Linked DNA regions of Homo sapiens: region 1 is linked to region 2. Evidence: promoter capture Hi-C in 16 types of primary human blood cells and fetal thymus (Javierre and others, 2016). All regions are on one chromosome and are shown on one strand. Each heading gives the region's core, a stretch centred on a gene start or on the middle of the fragment in contact. The rest is flanking DNA. Distances are from core to core; before and after follow the strand shown. Region 1 has its middle 11 kb from the start of OR2AG2. Region 2 holds the start of TRIM3 (tripartite motif containing 3).

What was found. Contacts are between HindIII fragments. The CHiCAGO score rates a contact against its expected background, and 5 or more counts as called.
Region 1: a fragment that was not itself captured here is called in contact with the fragment with the promoter of TRIM3 in region 2 in 3 of 17 cell types (activated CD4 T cells, naive CD8 T cells and naive CD4 T cells); the score reaches 6.6 in activated CD4 T cells.

The regions. Positions count from the first base shown.
Region 1 is chr11:6,758,671-6,763,697 of GRCh38, forward strand. No RefSeq gene overlaps it. Among named protein-coding and RNA genes, the nearest start is that of OR2AG2, 11 kb to the right of the region's middle. The HindIII fragment of the contact is 3,754 bases long and covers 1-3,289 here.
Region 2 is chr11:6,470,571-6,475,441 of GRCh38, forward strand. It overlaps TRIM3 (tripartite motif containing 3), which reads right to left and starts at 3,371. Exons shown (of 12, transcript NM_033278.4): 1 at 3,221-3,371. RefSeq lists enhancers at 2,032-2,971, 2,972-3,910 and a silencer at 3,268-3,497. The HindIII fragment of the contact is 3,557 bases long and covers 2,208-4,871 here.

The DNA of each region.
Region 1 (5,027 bases), core at 163-2,662, 290 kb after region 2:
AAGCCAACAATGGCCATTCAAGGGTTTCGGTGCATCGTTCCAACTCTGACCCTGCTACCTCCCTCTTATAAGGACCCTTGTGATTATATTGAACCCACCTGGATAATCCGGGATAATTTTCTTGTCTCAAGATTGGTAATTTAATCACATCTACAAAGTCCTTTTTGCCATCTAAGGTACCATGTACAGGTTCTGGGGAGTAGGAATGTGAACATCTTTGGGGGACATTTATTTATCAATAGCATACTCAAAGAGAGACTAGCCCTCAGTGAGTCAAATGACTACAAAACACGTGGCTAATCTTTTTTTAATAACTTTTTTAAGCTAAAATATAACAGTTATACAAATACTAAAAAATGCTCAGAATGTATATGTACAGCTCAATGAATCTGGCACAAGGCATACACACTCCAGTAACCACTATTCAGGTCAAGTTACAGAGCATTACCAACACCCCAGTATTCTTTCCTTATGCCCTCTTCTAATCACTATACCTTCACTCACTCCCCAAAAGCAGTTTAACACCATACATCAGTTATGTTTCTTAGACAGGCAATTGAAATGATACAATATGTATGTTTTGTGCCTGCCTTCCTTCACTCAATATTACGTTTGTAAGATTTATCCATGTTACTATATGGAGCTATTGTGGTTCATTTTCTTTTCTTTCTTTTTTTTTGAGAGTCTCGCCTTGTCACCCAGGCTGTAGTTCCTCTCTGTTCCATTGGTCTATATATCTGTTTTGGTACCAGTACCATGCTGTTTTTGTTACTTTAGCCTTGTAGTATAGTTTATAGCATTGTAGTATAGATTGCAATGGCACGATCTCGGCTCACTGCAAGCTCTGCCTCCCAGGTTCAAATGATTCTCCTGCCTCAGTCTCCTGAGAGCTGGGATTACAGGCGTCTGCCACCACGCCCAGCTAATATTTGCATTTTTTCAGTAGAGACAGGTTTTACCATGTTGGCCAGGCTGATCTCGAGCTCCTGACTGTGTGATCTGCCTGCCTCAGCCTCCCAAAGTGCTGGAATTACAGGTGTGAGCCACTGCGCCTGGCCTCGTAGTTCATTTTCTTTGTTGTATAATGCATTGTATGACTAGATCACAGTTTATTTATCCTTTATGCTGATGAACAAACATGTGGGTTGTTTTCAGCTTTGGGGTATTTTAAACAGTGTTGCTATAAATAGTTTTGCACATGTCTTTTGGTGCACATATACACACATTTCTGTCAGGCATATACAACAAGTAGAATTGCTTGGTTATGGCATATACATATCTTCAACTTCAGTAGAGAATACCAACCAGTTAAAAAAATTTTTTTATTATACTTTAAGTTCTAGGGTACAGTGCAGAACGTGCAGTTTTGTTACATAGGTATATACATGCCATGGTGGTTTGCTGCACCCATCAACCCGTCACCTACCTTAGGTATTTCTCCTAATGCTATCCCTCCCCCAGTCCCCCACCCATGACAGGCCCCAGTGTGTGATACCTCCCTATGTCCATGTGTTCTCATTGTTCAACTCCCACTTATGAGTAAGAACATGCGGTGTTTGGTTTTCTGTTCTTAGTTTGCTGAGAATGATGGTTTCCAGCATCATCCATGTCCCTGCAAAGGACATCGTTTTCATGGCTGCATGGTATTCCATGGTGCATATGTGCCACATTTTCTTAATCCAGCCTATCACTGATGGGCATTTGGGTTGGTTTCAAGTCTTTGCTATTGTGAATAGTGCTGCAATAAACATACATGTGCACGTGTCTATACAGTAGAATAATTTATAATCCTTTGAGTATATACTCAGTAATGGGATTGCTGGGTCAAATGGTATTTCTGGTTCTAGATCTTTGAGGACTCATCACATTGTATTCCACAATCATTGAACTAATTTACACTCCCACCAACAGTGTAAAATTGTCCCTATTTCTCCACATCCTCTTCAGCATCTGTTGTTGCCTGGCTTTTTAATGATCACCATTCTAACTGGGGTGAGATGGTATCTCATTGTGGTTTTGATTTGCATTTCTCTAATGACCAGTGATGATGAGCTTTTTTTCCTACGTTTGTTGGCTGCATAAATGTCTTCTTTTGAGAAGTGTCTGTTCATATCCTTCATCCACTTTTTGATGGGGTTGTTTTTTTTCTTGTAAATTTGTTTAAGTTCTTTGTAGATTCTGTATATTAGCCCTTTGTCAGATGGATAGATTGCAAAAATTTTCTCCTATTCTGTAGGTTGCATGTTCACTCTGATGATAGTTTCTTTTGCTGTGCAGTAACTCTTTAGTTTAATTAGATCCCATTTGTCAATTTTGGCTTTTGTTGCCATTGCTTTTTGTGTTTTAGTCATGAAGTCTTTGCCCATGCCTATGTCCCGAATGGTATTGCCTAGGTTTTCTTCTAGGGTTTTTATGGTTTTAGGTCTAACATTTAAGTCTTTAATCCATCTTGAATTAATTTTTGTATAAAGTGTAAGGAAGGGGTCCAGTTTCAGTTGTCCGCATATGGCTAGTTTTCCCAACACCTTTTATTAAACAGGGAATCCTTTCCCCATTACTTGTTTTTGTCAGATTTGTCAAAGATCAGATGGTTGTAGACATGTGGTGTTATTTCTGAGGCCTCTCTGTTCCATTGGTCTAGATATCTGTTTTGGTACCAGTACCATGCTGTTTTTGTTACTTTAGCCTTGCAGTATAGTTTAAAGTCAGGTAGCATGATGCCTCCAGCTTTGTTCTTTTTGTTTAGGATTTTCTTGGCCATGCGGCCTCTTTTTTGGTTCCATATGAAATTTAAAGTAGTTTTTTCCAGTTCTGTGAACAAAGTTAATGAGAGCTTGATGGAGATAGCATTGAATCTATAAATTACTTTGGGCATGTGTGAGGAAGGTACTTGTTCTAGCACTCACCAAATTCCAGATAAGAGACACGAAGTTCTCCAGTAGTACTTTTCAATCTCTCATCAACAAACTTAAGATTAGTTCCTTCTTTCCTTATGGAGGGAGGGGTAAAAGAATACTCTGAGAGATAACTTCAAATATTCCTCTCCACCAACCTCCAACTGTCTCTCTCTTTCATACCCTAAAAAAGTTGAAGGCTTAACGCTTGTATGCCATCTCTTGATCACCTCCATGTACGTCCTCCCTAATGGTGTAGCACCTCAGTTTAGAATGTGGAGGTACATGGCAAATATTGTTTTATTTTTAGATTTCAGGTAATATTTCTATGGTATGACATTAGTATAGAGACAATAATCTAACTGAACTTTTGGGAAGTTGAGTCAAGGAGTGTAAGCTTAAAATAATGTACCATAATATTTATGAGTCTGCTCCACTAGAGCATATTATTATTCATATACTCATATTATTATGAGTTCATGATAATTATGAGTCTGCTCCACCAGACTCATCATTCAATTATTTCTTTTTCTTTTTGAACATTCTAGTAAATTTAAGAATATACTTCTGGAAATTCATTGTTATAAACTTTATTGTTTTACACTGTAGCAAATGAGGGCAATGCCCACTACATATTCTTTTAACTTATCATTTCAGGGCATGCTGACATCTGACAGCCATCTTTTGCAACAGAACTTTCTTTGGCTAACATGCCAGTTATGCCCACTTGCCCAGAAGATCAGAATGGCCTAAGATACTAATGTGCCCTACACCAAGCCGCCTTAATTGATAATTGATGAGAATTGGTGTGTAAAAACCCCTAGATTTCTGATAGAGTTTGGATGTTGTCCCCTCTAAATCTCATATTGAATTGTAATCCCCAGTGCTGGAGGAGGAGCCTGGTGGGAGGTGACTGGGACATCGGTGTAGATCCCTCATGGCTTGGTGCTGTCCTCCCAATAGTGACTATTCACAAGATCTGATTGTTTAAAAGTGTGTGGTACCTTCTCTCCCCTACTCTCTCTCGCTCCCTCTCTTGCCATGTGACATGTCTGCTCCCGCTTTGCCTTCACCACCATAAATAAAAGCTCCCTGAAGCCTCACCAGATCTGAGTAGTTGCCAGTGCCAGGCTTCCTGTACAGCCTGCAGAACTGTGACCCAATTAAGCCTTTCTTTATAAATTACCCAATCTCATGTATTTTTTATAGCAATGTAAGAATGGCCTACACAATCTCTTACATCGTAGTTGAGGTATACCTCTGAGATACATGTTCTACTCTTTCCAAGAATTCCTTAAGAAGATTAGGAATCAGTTGCCCACAATAAGACAACTCACTCGTTATTGAGTCTTTTCTTTGTCTGTTTCCCTCTTGCAAATTCTACTAGTTTTTCCTGGAATTACTTCCTAAATATATTACGTATTCAAATTCTTGCTCAGAATCAAATTCTGAGGGAACCCACATTAAGATAAACTGATTGTTCCTCAGCAAAAAAACAAAGCTGGAGGCATCATGCTACCTGAATTCAAACTATATTACAAGGCTACAGTAACCAAAACAGCATGGTACTGGTACCAAAACAGAGATAAAGACCAATGGAACAGAACAGAGCCCTCAGAAATAATACCACACATCCACAAACATCTGATCTTTGACAAACCTGACAAAAACAAGAAATGGGGAAAGGATTCCCTATTTAATAAATGGTGCTTGGAAAACTGGCTAGCCACATGTAGAAAGCTGAAACTGGATCCCTTCCTTACACCTTATACAAAAATTAATTCAAGGTGAATTAAAGACTTAAATGTTAGACCTAAAACCATAAAAGCCCTAGAACAAAATCTAGGCAATACCATTTAGGACCTAGGCATGGGCAAGGACTTCATGACTAAAACACCAAAAGCAATGGCAACAAAAGCCAAAATAGACAAATGGGATCTAATGAAACTAAAGAGCTTCTGCACAGCAAAAGAAACTACCATCAGAGTGAACAGGCAACCTACAGAATGGGAGAAAAATTTTGCAATCTACCCATCTGACAAAGTGCTAATATACAGAATCTACAAAGAACTTAAACAAATTTACAAGAAAAAAACAAACAACCCTATCAAAAAGGGGGCAAAGGATATGAAC
Region 2 (4,871 bases), core at 2,121-4,620:
AGTTCACTGTTTAATGTGATGAATCTGAGGTGCCTATGGGATGTAATTCAAGTGGAGAGGTCCAGTTGGCAGTTGGAAAGATACGCTGAAGCCTAAGAGAGAGGTCTGGCCTGGAGACATGAATGTGGATGTTGGTGCAGAGATGGTTCCTGAAGCCATGGGCGTGGATGACATTACCCTGAGAGGGTAAAGAGAGAAAGGAGGGTCTATCACCAAGTCCCAAGGAACCTCAATATTTAAGAGATAGGCCCAGGAAGCAGAGTCTGCAAAGAAGATTGAGAAGGCACAACCAGAGAAGCAAGAGAATCAGGAAACAGATGTCATGAATGCCAAGGGAGAAGAGAACTTCATGAACAAGGGAGTGAAATGCTGCAGAGGTCCCATTATTTAAGCCCCAAAGAGGCTTTCATTAACCTCAGAGCATGTGGTTTTCAGGGGATGGAGGACAGGAAGCCAGATGCAGGGAGTCAAGCAAGAAGCTGATTGTGAACAAATGAAGACAGCCAGTGCTGACTCCACTAGATCCTGGACATCTGCAAAGGATGTGTTTCAAGGCTTTTCAGTTTCTCCAAATTCTCAAATAGCATTAATTTTCCCCAGGACTTCCTCCTACAATCTCACAGGATTCCCAGTACACATGAGTTACACAGTTGTGAATGGAGGTAACCAAGGCATTGTTGAAAATGGATGCGAGAGGTCAGCTAGGCTCATTTGCTTGCTAAAATAACTCACGTCTACTCACTAGCTTCCAGGTTTATCTGATCATTTGAGACCTCAAAAAAATGACAAATGACTGCAGGTTACAGTCTTTGGGCTTTCTCTGAAACAAATGAAGCCTTGGATGAGGCAAAGTCCTTAAAGCCAATGAATCCTTTAAATAAGATTAGCAGGGAAGGAAAGCAATGAAATTCATGGCCATCTCCCCCAACATTGCCAGACTGAGTAAAGTGAATGAACCATTCAATCAAACTTCTCTGGGCACACTGTGGGCCAGGTCCTTCAGCTGTGAAATAGAGACACAAAGCTGAATCAGACACACTCCCTGTCTTTCACAAGTTTTTAGACTAATGTGAGAAACAGAAATGGAAACACGTAACTACAATGTGATAAGTACCATGATATTGACATGTTCAAATTGCTACAGCAGCAAACTGGAGGAAGTACCTAACTCTGAGGATGGTACAGAATAAAGAAGGCTTCCAGAGGAAGGGGTATTTGAGCTGGGTCTTGAGAGACAAATAGGACATTGATACGTACATTGGGAAAACAGTGAGTAAAGAAACAGAAACATGAGAAACTAAGAAATATGGAACAGATGGACAAGATTGCAAATCTCCAAAAGGCAGAGGTTATACATGATGCTTTTACATCCTAAAAGCATAAAAATAAATATGCTAAAAATAAATAAATCTAAATAAATAAATAAATAAAAGGCACCACCACTCACCCACCCACACAAGCGAGAACCCTGGTAGTCTTCTCAATTACACCTTTTCTTTCACCTTTCAGATACAAGCTATGACTACATCCTCAATTCTGCCTCTGAAATTTGGCTAGGTTTAAAAAGTTAGGAGATCTAGGATCTAGTCCTAATGCTGTAACTAACTCCACTAACACAAGGTGAAACTCTAGGTAAGTTCCAACCCCATTCCCTTATTTGTAAATTGGGAGAAGAGGGATGTTTTCTCAAAATCTGAGATTCCCAAGGTTCCCTCTCAAGCCAAGGGCTTCCACAGATTGTACCATGAGCCCATGATTAAATCCCATCTTGTACTACCTCGATGATTTGACTTCTAGTTTCCACTGTTAGGCTAAATGTGTTAGAGGATGGTCTTAGTTGCCTCCCCTCCACACTCCCCCTGCCCCCTCGCCCCCGTAAATAAATGTTTGCTGAGTTTTAAGTCACCTGTGACACTCTATGAACGCTCTCTATTCTAACCATATGGTTTTTCTGCTTTTCTGAACCTGGGCTATACTATCCCAACGATGGACTCTTTGCTCAAGTTCTCTCGGCAAGAATGCCATTGTCTCCTAAGTGGCTGTGGCAGTACCTGGCACACAGGAAGTACTCAGTATATGTTGGTTACAGGAGAGCTCTGTTTAAATCTCTGCAGTTCCCTTTCATCAGAGAGAGATGCAAAAGTAATGGCAGTAACAAGACAAGTGAATAAAGTCCCAAGAAGAGAGACCTCTGCTTAATATAAGGAAGCTTTTCCACAGCAGAAAGTAGCAAGTGCTCTGTCACTGGAGGCATACAAGCCCAAGGAGGCAGGGCTACTGTCAGGCCTGCAGCTCTGATTCCAATTCTGCAGCAAATCATCCCCTGCTTAGGGGATGAATGGGCACCAGTGAGCTAGACAGACTGGCCAAGGGAGACCTGTGATGTTTTCTGCACCTGCTGTGACCTCCCAGATGTGATCTTCCTGCTAGGGCCAGTCCTGAGTTTCTGTTGTCCACATCAGAGAACCCCCACACCAAGAACAAGCCCAGGGCCTGCCCTCAGTCGAACTGACCTCCCTGGGGTGCAGCCTGCCCCTCCAACCTGCAACCATCTGTCCCTGCAGGTTTGCAGCCCAGGATCTGAAGCCAATTGCAGAAGGGAGGAGGTCAGAACCAGGGAGGGGCCTGGGGTCCTCCAGGCAGGGCTCAGGCTACAGGAGAACCAGAGGGGTCCTTTCCTACAAAAAAACAGCCTCCACATGAGGCTTTCTGTCCACAGAGCAGTGCATGGGGAGGAAAGGGTGTCCTCCATCCTGACTGGTGGGCCTGTGGGTACCAGAGGATGGAAGGGGCGGGGGGTGGGGTAGGGTGGGGGTGGGGGAGCAAGGGGTGGAGGTGTCTGCACCAGGGAGAAAAGAGCCCTTCAGACAAGATGGGCCACAATATTCCAGAGTCCCACTCAGCACGCACCACCACCACCACCCTCGGCCGCAGCGTTCAGCACCCTCCGCCAACACACACAAGCTCCCAAACCCCGCGCTCCCCTAAGGAACCATCACCCATCCACCCGCGCCTCCCCGCCTCAAAACAGGGACCTCACGTGAGCAGCCACAGCCCGAAGAATCCCCCTGCTGCTCTCACGGACATGGACACGCCTCACGTGGGCAGAGAGAGGCACAGCTTTTGAAAATCATCTGTGCCCCCACCCACAGACGCTCCGACCCAGACCCGGGCTGACAGGAATACAAACGCACCCTTGGGGCCCGCCCGTCGCACTCACCGCGTTGGAACAGGATGCGAGGGCAAAGCTCGGACTGCGGCCACTCTGAAGGGCCCGCGGCGCTGCTACTGCTGCCAGCGCCCGTCCGCCCGGCCCTGCCCGCGCCTCCGCCTGTCCCCGCGCCGGCGCCGCCGCCGGACTAGCCGCACAGGCCGGAGGGAGGGGCCGGGGCGGGGCTGCGGACCGGCCGGGGGAGGGGGTGACTCCAGTAGGGAAGACCCACCCACGCCCCGCCCGCCGCCGCGGAGGCCCCGCCCACCCCGCCTGCCCACCCCTACCGCACCCGCACGCCCCCCCGCCAACGCCTCCACCTCCTGCGGACGCTGCCTCCTTGGTGCTGCTAGGGAGCCGGCGGGCCGGCGAGCCGGATCCCGGATCTCGGATCCCGGATCTCCGCCAGCTGCCTCCGGCTCCGGGAAGGGCGGTGTAGTCGGTCTCAGGGATTGAGATGAGACTCCGTCAAGAAAAGGCAGCTGGGGCAGCAGGGATTTCGGACTCTGGGAGCCTGTCTGGGCCGCCTGCCTCCTGGAGGCGCCCTTTCCGGCTTCCTTGGAGTGCTCCTATGGAATATGCTAGTCTATCGGCTGACCAGGAAGACGTAGAAACCGTCTGTACCTCAGCACGATCTCTGGGCGGCAGAAGGGCAGTACCCAGAACTCTGGGAGAAGGAGTTAAGGGGTAGAAAGGTGGGGGATTTGATTAGGCTTTGGGCGCTTCAGGAGCCCCCTCCTGAGGAAATTCTGGTTCAGACCATCCAGCGACTCCCTTCCTCACACCAAAGACACTGGACAATTCTCAGAATCATCGCCTTGTGCAAAAAGCAGCCCCAAGTGGAAAATAATTGTAACAGTTTACAGGGACTGAGTGGTTATTATGTGCCGACACAGAACTAGCCACTTTACATATATTATTTAATAGTCAGTAGGTAGCATCTTTTATTAGCCCAATTTTACAATGGGAAAAAATAGGGATCTTGCTCCCCAGACGTTAGCCCTCATCACTCAGCTAGAAAGTGGCAGAACCTGGAGTTGAGCCCTGTTTTTAGGCCCTACAACCAGCATTTGGAGACTCGGTACCTTTCATGTTGAAAAATCCCCAGTGGCCCATTAAGTGGCAGCTCATATAAGGACCACCTTCCCTGCCCCAAAAATCAAGCTCTAGTCAGATGATTGCAGGCTGATCAAAGCCCAGAAGACTGTCTGGGAGCTGCAGTATCCATGACAAAGGGCAAAGTCATGCCTGTGAGGATCCCTGCACTATGGGAATCTGCTGAGTGGGTCTTCCCCTTCCTCCAGCCTTCCAGAGGTGGGGAAAATCCTGAAAAATTCTGGTTTCCTTGGCCAAAGGGCATACAGGTGATGACACCTAGCCCTGACTAAACCAAAGTGCTGTTAGGGATCTTTCTTGTGACCTCTCCACAAGGTTCAGATTTAGGCTCAACACCTGGGTGCAGCAGGAGCTTTGGGAACCGCCTCAACCTCTTATCCACCTGAGTTCAGCACATAGCACAAGATGCTCCAGTGCTTGTGAAGGAAACCCAGACGGGGATCATGCTTGCAGTTTTGGGCTGGGGCTACTATGCTACCCAAGATGAGGGAACTGGAGTCTAGATGACACTATCTTAAGCCTCAGAGGACTACTTTTCTCAACT